Regions from separate parts of the Homo sapiens genome. Here regions 1 and 2 are each linked to region 3. The links are contacts of gene promoters, found by promoter capture Hi-C in blood cells and fetal thymus (Javierre and others, 2016). All regions are on one chromosome and are shown on one strand. The core of a region is centred on a gene start or on the middle of the fragment in contact, and the rest is flanking DNA. Distances in the headings are between cores, read along the strand shown. Region 1 holds the start of ARHGEF3 (Rho guanine nucleotide exchange factor 3). Region 2 holds the start of TASOR (transcription activation suppressor). Region 3 holds the start of ARF4 (ARF GTPase 4).

What was found. The method cuts DNA at HindIII sites, captures the fragments that hold promoters and counts their contacts. A CHiCAGO score of 5 or more calls a contact.
Region 1: a contact is called between a fragment that was not itself captured here and the fragment with the promoter of ARF4 in region 3, in 1 of 17 cell types (fetal thymus). The highest score is 5.9, in fetal thymus.
Region 2: a contact is called between a fragment that was not itself captured here and the fragment with the promoter of ARF4 in region 3, in 5 of 17 cell types (fetal thymus, naive CD4 T cells, monocytes and 2 more). The highest score is 11.3, in fetal thymus.

The regions. Positions count from the first base shown.
Region 1 is chr3:56,799,115-56,802,848 of GRCh38, reverse strand. It overlaps ARHGEF3 (Rho guanine nucleotide exchange factor 3), which reads left to right and starts at 900. Exons shown (of 10, transcript NM_019555.3): 1 at 900-1,146. The coding sequence starts at 1,051. RefSeq lists a silencer at 731-900 and an enhancer at 3,265-3,314. The HindIII fragment of the contact is 4,111 bases long and covers 1-3,734 here.
Region 2 is chr3:56,681,381-56,685,599 of GRCh38, reverse strand. It overlaps TASOR (transcription activation suppressor), which reads left to right and starts at 2,335. Exons shown (of 24, transcript NM_001365635.2): 1 at 2,335-2,924. The coding sequence starts at 2,594. RefSeq lists a silencer at 2,203-2,502 and enhancers at 2,643-2,812, 3,233-3,352, 2,560-3,504. The HindIII fragment of the contact is 596 bases long and covers 2,569-3,164 here.
Region 3 is chr3:57,595,652-57,599,987 of GRCh38, reverse strand. It overlaps ARF4 (ARF GTPase 4), which reads left to right and starts at 2,644. Exons shown (of 6, transcript NM_001660.4): 1 at 2,644-2,914. The coding sequence starts at 2,848. ARF4-AS1 (ARF4 antisense RNA 1) reads right to left here and starts at 2,199. Exons shown (of 2, transcript NR_132370.1): 1 at 1,937-2,199. It also overlaps a transcript of PDE12 not described here. RefSeq lists enhancers at 1,621-2,326, 1,841-2,400, 2,421-2,670, 2,681-2,750, 2,941-2,990 and 4 more. The HindIII fragment of the contact is 2,548 bases long and covers 1,085-3,632 here.

The DNA of each region.
Region 1 (3,734 bases), core at 534-3,033, 800 kb after region 3:
CATTGTTTCCAGTTATTTTTTATTTTTTACTGCCCCAGACAGGGCTGCTGCAAACAACCTTAAGATCAATCGCCTTCTTGGGCATTTATAATGTCATTGTTTCTCCAAAAAGGATCCAGAAAGGTGTGGTAGTGCCAGGTCATCCATGCACAGCTTTATACTTGAAGGACACTCTGTCAGATTGCCCTCGAGTGTCAGGCAGCCTCTGAATATGCTAGTCAAATTTAAAAGTTGGTGCAAAGTGGGAAAGGTCTCGAGGGAATTTTCCGGGGGTGGTGGAAATGTTTCGTATACCGACTGTGGAGGTGGTTATACGGGTGTTTACATTTGTCAGAACTCAACAAACGGTACTCTTAAAATGGGTGCATTTTGCCATTTGTAGATTATATTCCACTGACATTCATTTAAAAAACCAAACAAAAACAAAACAAAACAAAAAAAACGTGCAGTGGCCTGGGAACAGGGTAAGAGAGAACACCACCCCTTTCTAATGTGGGCTTTTAAAACGCTCGCTTTTCCCCCCAGGCTCCTTCCTGCCTCCAGGTGTCACTACAGCCTCCTTTCTCCCCGTTGCCCGGTTTCGCCCCAGCCTCCTTTCTACCAGCAGCCTTTCACCCGGAGAGTGCCAAAGAGCCCGAAAGGAGCTATCATGGGGTCTGCCTGCCCCGCAATCGCGGCCCACGCTCTGCGGGGGCGCCCGGAGTCGAATACCAGCGGGGAGAGAGAGGTCCCTCTCCACCCGCGGGACCGCCCCACGCCCCTCGCAGCCCCAGGAGGTGTCCGCGCTGCGGCACGTGGGCCCTCCCGGCAGCGTGGGGCGGTGCCGAGCCGGCGGCCCGCCCCCTCCCCACCCATCAAGGCGTGGCTGGCACGGTCCCGCCCACTCGGCTCCGGAGCCCAGTCGAGTCCTGCCCGGCTAGAAGCCGGCTGTCGGTCTCCGTGTCGCCGCCGCCGCCCGGCATCGTGGAGCTGGGGCCCCCTTTTGCCTGGGAGTTTTGTAGTCGCCTAGGGTCAGCGGTGACATCCCAAAGGGCAGGCCCGGCAGCCGCCATGGTGGCCAAGGATTACCCCTTCTACCTCACGGTCAAGAGAGCGAACTGCAGCCTGGAGCTACCCCCGGCCAGCGGTCCGGCCAAGGACGCTGAGGTAGGGCCGCGCCCTGCACCTGGACCTCTATGGGTCATCTGCCTGTCTCGTCTGCCTCCATCTCCCATTCTCGGCGCCCGTCCAGTGTCACTGTCTCTGTTTCCATCTCTCACTCTCCGTGTGTGCCACTTTCTCTCTCTACATCTCTCCCACAGTCTTCTTTGTGTCTCCCCGTCGCCATCTCTCACCCTGTCTCCTTTTCTCTCGCTTTTTCTCTGTGGACCAAGCACTAGCTGCCTCCTCTCTCCCTGTCCCTCTACCTGCCGGTCTGGGAGCAACTGCCTCCTTGCCTTTGCAGGGCTCTCAGACTGTCCATCTTCTGTCTGGACTCTCAGAGGGACTTTCTCCTACTGTCAGCAAGCCCCAGTGTCAGGGAAGTGTCAGCAAGCCCCAGTGTCGCTACCCTTTAAGCGAGTTTTTTTTGCCTGGGTTGTGAGAGCAGAGGGACGTACCAGCCCTCTCACCTGTCAGACTTGGCCTTGCAGCCCTTTGGCAGCAAAAACAGGACACAGCGCCTCTGCCTATCACCTGTGGCCAGTGAGGGTCATTCAGCCGGGGGGCTGGGGCTAAATGAGTAAATTGGAGTGTCTCCCACATGGATCTTGAAAATGAATTAAAGTCCTTAGGGTCAATGGAAAGCTGCCTTGGAACATTGGAAACATTTCTCTTTCTGGGAACTTTCCTGTGCCTTGCGGGCGATGTGAAGGAGTGCTCCCAGGTTATGTTTAGTCTGCCTTTTCCTCTTGCGTGTTATTTCTCTGGCACATAGCTCACTGGCCTTAAAGGTTGGGTTCAGCTGGAGGAGAAAGCATCCCTCTCTTTGAGGGTCTTAGGGAATACAGTCGCTTTCGCTAGATTACAGCTTTGCTGTGGTCAAGCTGCGGTGGAACCCACAGGACCCAGCTAGTCATTGCCGCTCATGCGTGTATCTGGGAGCTTTCCACTCTCCCACACCTCACTCTGCGAACATCAAACATCACCACCACCACTGGGGAAAGGCTGAAGGCAGGTGTGCATCCGGCCTTGTCACAGCATTCTTGAGGTTCCACCCACTCGCCTTCCTTGGGTCTGCTCAGCTGTATGCACTTGGCTCACTGAATCATGTATATTCGGGAGCACACCATCAAAGATTCATTTCCTCTAGCAAGAGCTGCTCCAGGCTGACAGGACTCCAAGCAGTCTCTGGTTGTATTCAGCTTTCTATACGCTGAGCACAAACTAACTTCTCCCTCACTCAAACCCAACCCTACACTCCAGCTCAGTCGAATATTATCACAAAGAGTTTTTGTTGCCAGCAGCTGTGAAAGTGTGATGGCCCTAGTGGCATTTGCATAGAATTCAGGTTGGTCAGGCCTGGAATGGATATAATATTTTTTCAGTGGGAACTTCCTAATTTAATCAACATAGGAGCAGCGCAATTGGTGCCCACTCAAACTCCACTTGTAAGGAAGAAAGGCATAACCAATAAATTAATAAATTGAAGTGGGCCAAAGAAAAGAATAGTGAGGATAGCTGAGGACTCTAACCAGTCCCTTCCTACTATTACTTAGTCCTGTGTTTTTGAGTAGTTTAGCTAAAGGCTTAGGTAAAACTTGCCTGCTTAATTTCATTTTATTCTTATACATAGAATATAGATATGTCTATATATCACAAATATGAAACTTATCACATGTCAAATATTAATTTTCTTCATTGGTAGCTGGATCTAGACTATAAAATATGACTTATTTTCCTCGTATGGGGATATCCTGATGTGAGAAATAAGGAAGGGGTTGGAATAGTTTTGGAAATAGTTGGTAAATATTTTTCAGATATCACTATTGGGGTTTTTGTTTTTTAGTGTTTGATTTAAACACTAAATCAAGTATGCTTTATACACTTTGAGGCAGAGATATCTTTTAGCTTCATCGATGAGCATATCACTTCCTGATAATGGAAATTGGCAAAATTGGAAAAAGAAACCTAAGTGAGTTTAGTGGGTAGTTTTCTGGTTTCCTTATCAGCGCAAAAGGCAGCCAACCCTTGTAGGCCTAGCTTCTCCATAAGCAGTTAACTAAAATATATTTTCCACCAGTAGGTGTCGTCAGTATTCATAAATTAAAAAATAGCATTCGCTTGTCAGCCTTTTGAAAAACATGATTATATAATTGTTTATAAGCTAGGCATTGACTGTTAATTCCTCTGAAAGTATTTTTTTAAGAGTGATTGTTTTCTTTGTGGAAAGAATGTGGTTATAATAAAAAGAAAAATAGATCTATCCAGAGGCCTTTCTAGGAAAACAGGACTTGTTGACCTTCAAAGGCCGTTGCAACAGAGCACCTGTGCCCTTTAAACATTTAATGGCCGTGTGTAATGGCTGTTCCTTCCGAATTTGCCTTGGGTAGGACAGTGCACACAGCATGGCACTGGGAAGTGCCTTCTAGCATTGACTCCTATCCTTGCAGCAAGTGTACTGGGGAAAATCACTTAGGAAAAGGCTCCTGGGGAACAGGCAAGTGGCATTGATGTGCATTTGATACCGTACACTGAGTAAAAAAATATGCAAAAATAAGCATTCTCTTAAAAGCAAATAAAATTTCTACTCAAGA
Region 2 (4,219 bases), core at 1,617-4,116, 910 kb after region 3:
TACTCTTTACTAACAACCTGTGATTGCTTTATGCATAGCCTACGAGCTTACAAGTAGAGTTGCCTTTTCTTGAGTGGATAAGTGGTGGCATTAGCATGCAATTAGTTGTTTTTGTTTGTTTGTTTTTAATAGAGACAGGGTCTCACTTATTGCCCAGTCTGGGCTTGAACTCCTGGGCTCAAGTGATTCTCTTGCCTCCACCTCCCGAAGTAGGATTTTGACGTGAGCCACACCTGGCTACAATTCTTATTTTTGAATTTGATAAAAATGAGCTTTTAGGGATGCCTTCAATGAATCAACAAAAAAGAAAGTTACCAATTTGGGACTGCAATGTGAGTTTCTGATCTTCTGTACTCTCTTTTAAATCAAGTAAAGCCCTTCCCCCAACTAAAAAACTTTTTCTTAAAATAATGTATTTTTCCCTCAACCTAGACCTCAGTTTTTCATTTAAACATATTTTAAAATGTGTGTGTGTGTTTTGAGACAAAGTCTCAGCCCAGGGTGGAGTGCAATGGTGCCATCTCAGGTCAGTGCAACCTCTGCCTCCCGGGTTCAAGCAATTCTCAAGCCTCAGCCTCCTGAGTAGCTGGGATTACAGGCATGTGCTACCATGCCCGGCTAATTTTTGTATTTTTAGTAGAGATGGGGTTTCACCATGTTGGCCAGACTGGTCTCCAACCCCTGACCTCAGGTGATCTGCCCGCCTCGGCCTCCCAAAATGCTGGGATTATGGGCGTGAGCCACTGCGCCTGGCCTAAAATGTGTTTTTAAACTATTTACTAATAATGGATTTACACTCTCTTTCGTATGATTTACTAAATTGTTTCGAATAGGTTGGGCAATTCATGATTTTTTTTTAATATCAGCTGTTAAACAGTGGTAATGTTTATTAGAGGACAAAAGAATCCAACTTTCGTGTTGCCCTTAGGAATGCTCTTTAAGCCTGGGGCTTTATTATGATGATAATTTGGTCTGTAAACTCCTTGGGAGACAGTTTGAGACTAGAGATCTGGGTCTCAAACCTGATCCTGCTGCTTGGCGACCCTCAACAAAATGTCAGCCCTCTGTTGCTTCGTCCATAAAATGAATAAAAGTGCACAGCTGCTGTGAAAATTAGGTCTTAGAGAAGCAGTCAGTGCAGTGCTTAAGTACTTACTCGGAGAGTTAAATAGACCCGGTTTCAAATCTTCGGTTACCATAATTTGTCCAGTGTCTTGCAACGCTTCTTTCAAATTCTGCAAACTAGTATCTACCTCATGTCTGTTGCTGTGAGGATTAAATGGAGACAATGCACGTAAATCACTTGTCCAGTCCGTGTCTAGCACGTAGAAAGCACTCAGTAAATATTGGCTGTACTCACGATAACCCGTGATAGTTTATACTGATAAGGTAGAAACCACTATGTAAAGGGCTCTTAACTATGAAGTTGTTCCCTTTATGGGAGAGCGACGACCTGCTGTGTATTTTTTAATGTGACCGCAAGTTTATTTTTTCTTTAATATACATTTACTATAGGAAAACGTTGATGAACGTTCCAGTGGAAGAAACAGTGGAGTTAGAGGTTTATCAGTGGCCAGATTTTTAACAGAAGTAACCATAGAAAGGGAACAAATGGAGGCCAGGTGCGGTCTCCATGGCGTGTGGTGGGGGGGGGTGCGACTAAAGGAAAAAAATGGGAAAAGTTAACAGCCTCCTCCCCTCAAACTCCCCAGAACCAAATCCTGTTAACACTAGGTTGTTAAGTCCCATCAGAGGATCTCAGGTGAAAGTGCTTGCTGGAGCTGTGACACTGGGTCACACTCTCTGAGATAAAAGAGAAGGCCGGGTGCGAGTAATCTATCATAAAGATACAAGATCCGGTGAGAATAGCAGGTCGCAAAGGCTGTCGAGGCTTTTAGGCTATTACCGCCTAGCCCATTCTTTTATCTCCTCTCCAGGTTTTTGTACACATGCAAATAGTTCATAAAACCGAGATCGTCCCGCATCCACTGCTCTGAAGCCCGTTTGGGCCGAGATAACTCGTGCGCAGAGGAAGGGTTTTGCCCACAAATGGGCGACGCCTGCGCTCCGGAGAAGAGGCCAAGCTAGTCTCCCTCGCCTGCAGCGCGGCGGGGGAATCCCCGGGAACCCGAAGATCGCCAGGGGCCCACGCATTCCGCAGGCCACGGCTGCGGCGTCGAGGTCCTCGCGGGGCGTTGCGGTCGCCCCTTTTGGCGGGCTCGGGCGCCCCGAAACTCCGCCCCCCGGCGCGGTATTTCCGCACTCGCGCAGGCGGGTGCCGCGCTCCCATTGGTGGAGTGGCCCGCGGTGGCCCCGCCCCCTCCCGGCCCCGACGCGCGCACGTTGAGTGGCGGGGGAAGGCAGAAGAACTGCCCGAGGGAGGAGCGGCTCCGAGGACCGGGCAGCGCATTTGGGGTGCCCGCTACAGGGCCCCCCAAGAGGCTGCCAGGTCGGGAGCGCAGCCTGAGGCCACGGGGGGAAGGGGGTGGGTGGGCTGAGAGCAGCTCGGCGGCGAGACTGGCCCGCCGCCCCTTCCCCCCACACCCGTCGACCTTGTGGGCAGAAGCTTCCCAGAGCTCCTTAGGCCGGCGCGATGGCGACTGCTGTGGAGACGGAGGCCTGTCAGCCGACGGATGCGAGTTGGGAAAGTGGCGGCGGCGGAGACGACGAGATGAAGCAGGCGCTTCCGGAGCTTGAGTCCTCCCAACAAAATGGCGGCGGCGGCGGCCTCAACATCGCTGAGCCCAGCGGCGGCGCTGGGCGTGAGGAGAACGCGGGGGCCGAGGCCGCCCAGAGCCTCAGCCACGAGCAGCCTCAGGACTCCTCTGAGGCGGGCGCGGCCGCCCTGCCCAGAGGCCCCGAAGAGCCCGAAAGGCCTGTTAGGAGGAGTTTTCAGATCCCCAGGAAGAGCAGAGAAAAGAAAGGTGGTGCCTCCCCTTCTTCTCAACCCCCTCTCTCTCTCCCCTCCATCTTTTCATTAGAATCTTTCTATCTCCTCTTCCCACACCCATCCGAGATACGTAAACACGCATGCAGCGCCGGCCGCCTCTCCCCTCACCGCCACGGCCGCCCAGCTGCCGCGTTTGGTGCGAGAGAAAGCGGTGGAACCACGCTCCCCTGCTGCCCCTCCCCGCGGAAGTTGGAAGTAGCTCAGGTTTGAAGCTTGTCCGTAAGGCTGCAGCTCCCAGAGAGGAAAGATGGTGCTCGGCGCCCCTCCCTCCCAGCCCCTGAAAGCAGAGAAGCCGTTGTGTCCTCCTAAGGATGCTTCTGAGAAGTCTCGCTATGGAAATAGCCCGTGGCCATGGATTCTGGGGCTTTCTCCAAGGCCATTGCCAATGTTCTGAGGACCATGAGTGCTTCTCCCCGTGGAAATTCTTCAGTTCTGTGTGTCTACTTGAAATGTGCTTGATGTCAGCGTCCTCCCTTATTTAGAAATCTCTATTAGTAGATGTGATCCATGCACACTGCTGTTTTCCATCACACTTCATTTCCATGTAGATTTTTCCCCCTTGTTTTTGAAGCGTTAGATTAAATAGGTTTTTCTCTCTTTAAATTCGAACTTAGTATTGTTTTTCTTATATTTGAAAAGAATGGAAAGGTAGGTTCTTGGAGCAGTAATTTCCCAATGGAAAAAAACTAATGAGAAGTTACCTTATTCTCAAGAGTCACCAACTTGGTCTTCTAGATGGTAGAACTTCAGGTTAAAAAAAAGTCCAGTCTTAGTTTTTGGAACCCATATGGAAACAGTTACATTAATTACTTGTACTTTTAAAAAATCTTAATGCCATATTGTTAATATGGAGTCAGAATTCCTAATGGAGGTCAAAATTAGTATCGTTTTTTGTTATTGGGGTATTATTTTTTAACTATCCAGTAAATTTTGGATATTCTGAATTTAGACAACTTCCTTTTTGCCCTACTGTATGGTTAGGTTTTCATTATTTACTTTGGAAAAAAATAGGATTTGTTTTTTTCCCGTATCTTTTCCATCCATCTGGTACAGAGTCTTGGCTGTAGCATTATACTGACTTTCCATAAGCATCACCAGTTCCATTTGCACTACTGGAATTGTTTGAGCCTTTTATTGGAAAAATACAAATAAAGTTCATTTGTTTGGATGGCAAAGCCAAGAAAATACTTGGTGTGAGAAACCATGTTGACAAAGATGAAGTTAACCTTTGGAAATTAGCATGAGGAATGTTTCTAGAAATATCTTTTG
Region 3 (4,336 bases), core at 1,395-3,894:
GGTGCACTGGCTCACACCTGTAATCCCAACACTTTGGAGGCTGAGGTGGAAGGATTGCTTGGGCCCAGGAGTTCCAGACAGGCCTGGGCAACATAGCCAGAATCCACTTATTTATTAAAAAAAAAAAAAAAAAAAGAGTGTAAATACCAGTTAATACCAGAAGAAATGGGTTCTTATAGCTGTTCCACTGCTTTTAGCTGTGTGACCTTGGGCAGAATATTTAATCTCTCTGACCCTGATTATTTTTATCTGTACAATAGAGATATTACAGTCTGCCATTAACATCCTGTTTTGTAATTTACATTAGCCACTTGATGTGTAGTGTATTCTTACTGAAAAATCTGTTTTGACAACTTTTGTTTTGGTTCAGGTTTTGGAGGCTAGAGATGGAGAACAGAATTCTTTCGATTTATTTTGCATAACTAAACAGAAAACATGGATTAAGATTTGGAATAAGTTACAGGGAGGAGGGCTCATACGGTTTGTCTTTTGAATTTAAGAAGACCCTAAGAATTAGTTGAAGATTGTTTTAAGGAATTCTACTATATAAAACTAAAAACAGACATAAGGCCTAAAGTGTGAAAGGAAAATAAATCTTGGGGCCTCCACCTCACTAAGCTAAAGAGAAAAGTCAAGCTGGGAACTGCTTAGGGCCAACCTGCCTCCCATTCTTTAAAAAGTCACCCCTCTGCTCACTGAGATAAACGCATATCTGACTGCCTCCTTTGGAGAGGCTAATCAGAAACTCAAAGGAATGCAACCATTTGTCTCTTATCTATCTATGCCCTGGAAGCTCCCTCCCCACTCAGAGTCTTCCTGCCTTTGCTTTGAGTTGTCCAGTCTTTCCAGAATGAACCAATGTTCATCTTACATATATTGATTGATGTCTCATTTCTCCCTAGAATGTATAAAACCAAACCGTGCTCTGATCACCTTGGGCACATGTCTACAAGACCTCCTGAGGCTATGTCATGGACGCGTGTCCTCAACTTTGGCAAAATTAACTTTCTAAATTAACTGAGGCCTGTCTCATATTTTGGGGGTTCACAAAAGGATACAAGAAGGTCTTGTCACTTAGCAAGCTTCCAAAATGCAATTTTGAGTTATTCAACTGCTAAGCAACTCTTTACATGTATCTCCAATGCAAAGGAGGGTACTTCTGAGTAAAGAAGTTTTTGGGGTTTTTTTGTTGTTGTTGTTTGTTTTTTTAAGACAGTCTCGCTCTGTCGCCCAGGCTGGAGTGCAGGGGCGCGATCTCCGCTCACTGCAACCTCCGCCTCCCGGGTTCACGCCATTCTTCTGCCTCAGCCTCCGGAGTAGCTGGGAGTATAGGCACCCGCCACCACGCCCGGTTAATTTATTCTATTTTTAGTAGAGACTGGGTTTCACCGTGTTAGCCAGGATGGTCTCGATCTCCTGACCTCGTAATCTGCCCGCCTCGGCCTCCCAAAGTGCTGGGATTACAGGCATGAGCCACTATGCCCGGCCAGAAGTTTTTGCTTTTAATTGCCCAGGGCCACTCCTAAGAAATAACAGTCTCTGAAGGGTAGATAAGGTAGTGCTACCAAGAGAAGCGTTACTCAGCAAGCCTTCAAAAATATAAAAATAACTTACTGTTTCTGAAAGTTTGCAAGTTTTTCTTATTCAACCCCATCCTATGGAAATATACCAGTTGGAATAAGCAACTACAGAACCACATAGGACGGCACTACTAGAAAAATAGATTAAATCTTTATCCTGGCAATGAGTCTAATACATTTATCATTGCTGTGAATTTTAAAAGGTGTAGCAGGCCGGGCGCGGTGAGTCACCGCGCCAGGCCCGATCATAAACACTTTTAAAGTGAAGAGGCTTTCCGCTTCCTCAACATAAGGAGTAAATCTTTAATGCTGCTTCTAGGAAAAAAAGTACAAGAAAAGCAAGACTTCCTCCTTGCCTTCTCTTTAAAAAGCAACAGCCGATGAACACGTGTTGGAGCGCTCTCGCCTTGACAGAATTAGAGATCTTCAGAATCACTTGGCGTGGTGGTCGAAGCGTCTAGCCCTAGCTCATTAGGGTGCCACAGTTTCTCGGCCCACAAGTCAGCTTTTAACCACTTTTCTCCGCAAAAGACCGGACCGGTCTTCATGCGTCAACTAAAGCAAGCGTCTGGTCCCGTGTGTGAAACGTGTAAGTTCATGGCATCAGGGAATACCCATCGCGCGTACCGTAATAGAAGAGGGCGAGGTTCCTCACCTAACCCATAATGCTCAGCTCGCCTTTCCGGAAGCAAGGACTATCACCCCGACAATACCTTCATCCGGGCGGAAGCGTCTCACCCTGAGTCTGATTTGGCAGTGACGAAGCGAGGTATTGTGGGACTTTGTCCGTCTCCCAGTACGCATGTGCCTCAGCCGGCCTCTCCCGGCTCCTGGGGCCACGTCCGGGCGGTGGCGCCGTCGAGAGATGCTCGTCAGCGAAACTGGCCAATCCCCTGCAGGCGCAAGCGCAGTGGCTCGGGCGCACCGGAAGCGCAGGGGGATGGGGCGGCGGTGACGCGATTCTGTCCGCGTTGGAGGGGCCGGGCCGCTGCTGGAGTCGCCGCGGCCGCCGCGTGACGTGGCACAGCCAGAGCCTAAAGGCTAGAGCCGGAGCTGCCGCGCCAGTCGCCTAGCAGGTCCTCTACCGGCTTATTCCTGTGCCGGATCTTCATCGGCACAGGGGCCACTGAGACGTTTCTGCCTCCCTCTTTCTTCCTCCGCTCTTTCTCTTCCCTCTCGTTTAGTTTGCCTGGGAGCTTGAAAGGAGAAAGCACGGGGTCGCCCCAAACCCCTTCTGCTTCTGCCCATCACAAGTGCCACTACCGCCATGGGCCTCACTATCTCCTCCCTCTTCTCCCGACTATTTGGCAAGAAGCAGATGCGCATTTTGATGGGTGAGTGAGGGGCTGCGAGTCAGGCGGGACCTGGGAAAGGCAGGGTCTCCACAATTGGGGTGGCCTCTGGGCCTGTTTTTTTCCTCCGCCCGCTGTGGTGGGGGAGGGGCGCCGGGTCGGGGGTCGGAAGGAATTCTTAAGGGGGAACAATGGAGCGGAGGGTGAGCGATCCCCCCCGCCCCCGATCTGTCGCCAGACGAGACAGGGACAGGGCTTCGGGCAAGATTTCTTTCTGGACTCGGCTTTTTCTCCTTGATCTTATTGAAAGCTGGACAACATTGGGCAGAGATGTGGGGAAAGCCAACTCTGGGAAGCAAACACTTGGCGAGGCCCTTTCTGGGGGTGCGATCTGCATACCTTCTTGCCCGGGTGTGGACAGCGGTCAGGAGGGAGGCAGAGCAACTCCAGCCTTTTCCCTCCCCTTCTGCGTTTCGTGTACAGTCCCTGCATACTCCATTGGTATGTAAGCCAGCGGCCACCCGGAGCCTGGAGCCGCCCGGGGCAGGAAGTTGCGGTGGCCAGGGAGCACCCAAGGTTTCCGAAGAGTCTGGAGTCCTTCAGCGCTCACTTTGCTAAACTTGGCCTTGCGCTGGATTCCGTTTCAAGTTTTTCGCTCCTTGTTAATCTCATTCTCCGAAAACTGAGCTTATCTTCTATTTCTTTGACTATTTTCAAAAACTTTAAATGTGTTTGGTTTATTCTCCTAGGTTTTTAAGCTTATTTTTAGGCGGTCTAAGGTCTAATGCAAAAAAATTTTAGAAACGAATTTTTAAAAAATACCTGATAAATTTTCAAGTAACTGAACATCATGACGCTGAATTTTATGGTAGTCTTGTTAAATAGTAACTACAATTTTTTTAAAATTTCTTTTTAGAAAGTTGACTTTTTAAAAACTACTTTTTAGGGGGCGTGTTTTTGCTCAGCTGAGGGAGAAGGGCTGTCAGTTGGCTGAAGTAAGCAACCGCTCCCGGTTACTGTAAGCAGTCTACATCACAGCTGAGCTCCATGGACTAGAATAACGCTGAAAGAAGCCCCTCTAACTTTGAACGTTGAAACTTGTTGGTTCATTAGCTTGTTTTCTACCGGAGGAGGTTTTATTTTTCTCTTCCTTTTTTTTTTTTGCAGACGGAGTTTTGCTCTTGTCACCCAGGCTGGAGTGCAGTGGCGCAATCTCGGCTCACTGCAACCTCCACCTCCCGGGTTCAAGAGATTCTCCTGCCTCAGCCTCCCGAGTAGCTGGGATTACAGGCATGCAACACCACGCCTGGCTAATTTTTTGTATTATTAGTAGAGACGGGGGTTTCACCACGTTGGCCAGTCTGGTCTCGAACTCCTCACCTCAGGTGATCCACCCACCCAGGCTTCCCAGAGTGCTGGGATTACAGGCGTGAGCCACCGCGCCCGGCCGGAGGTTTTATTTTA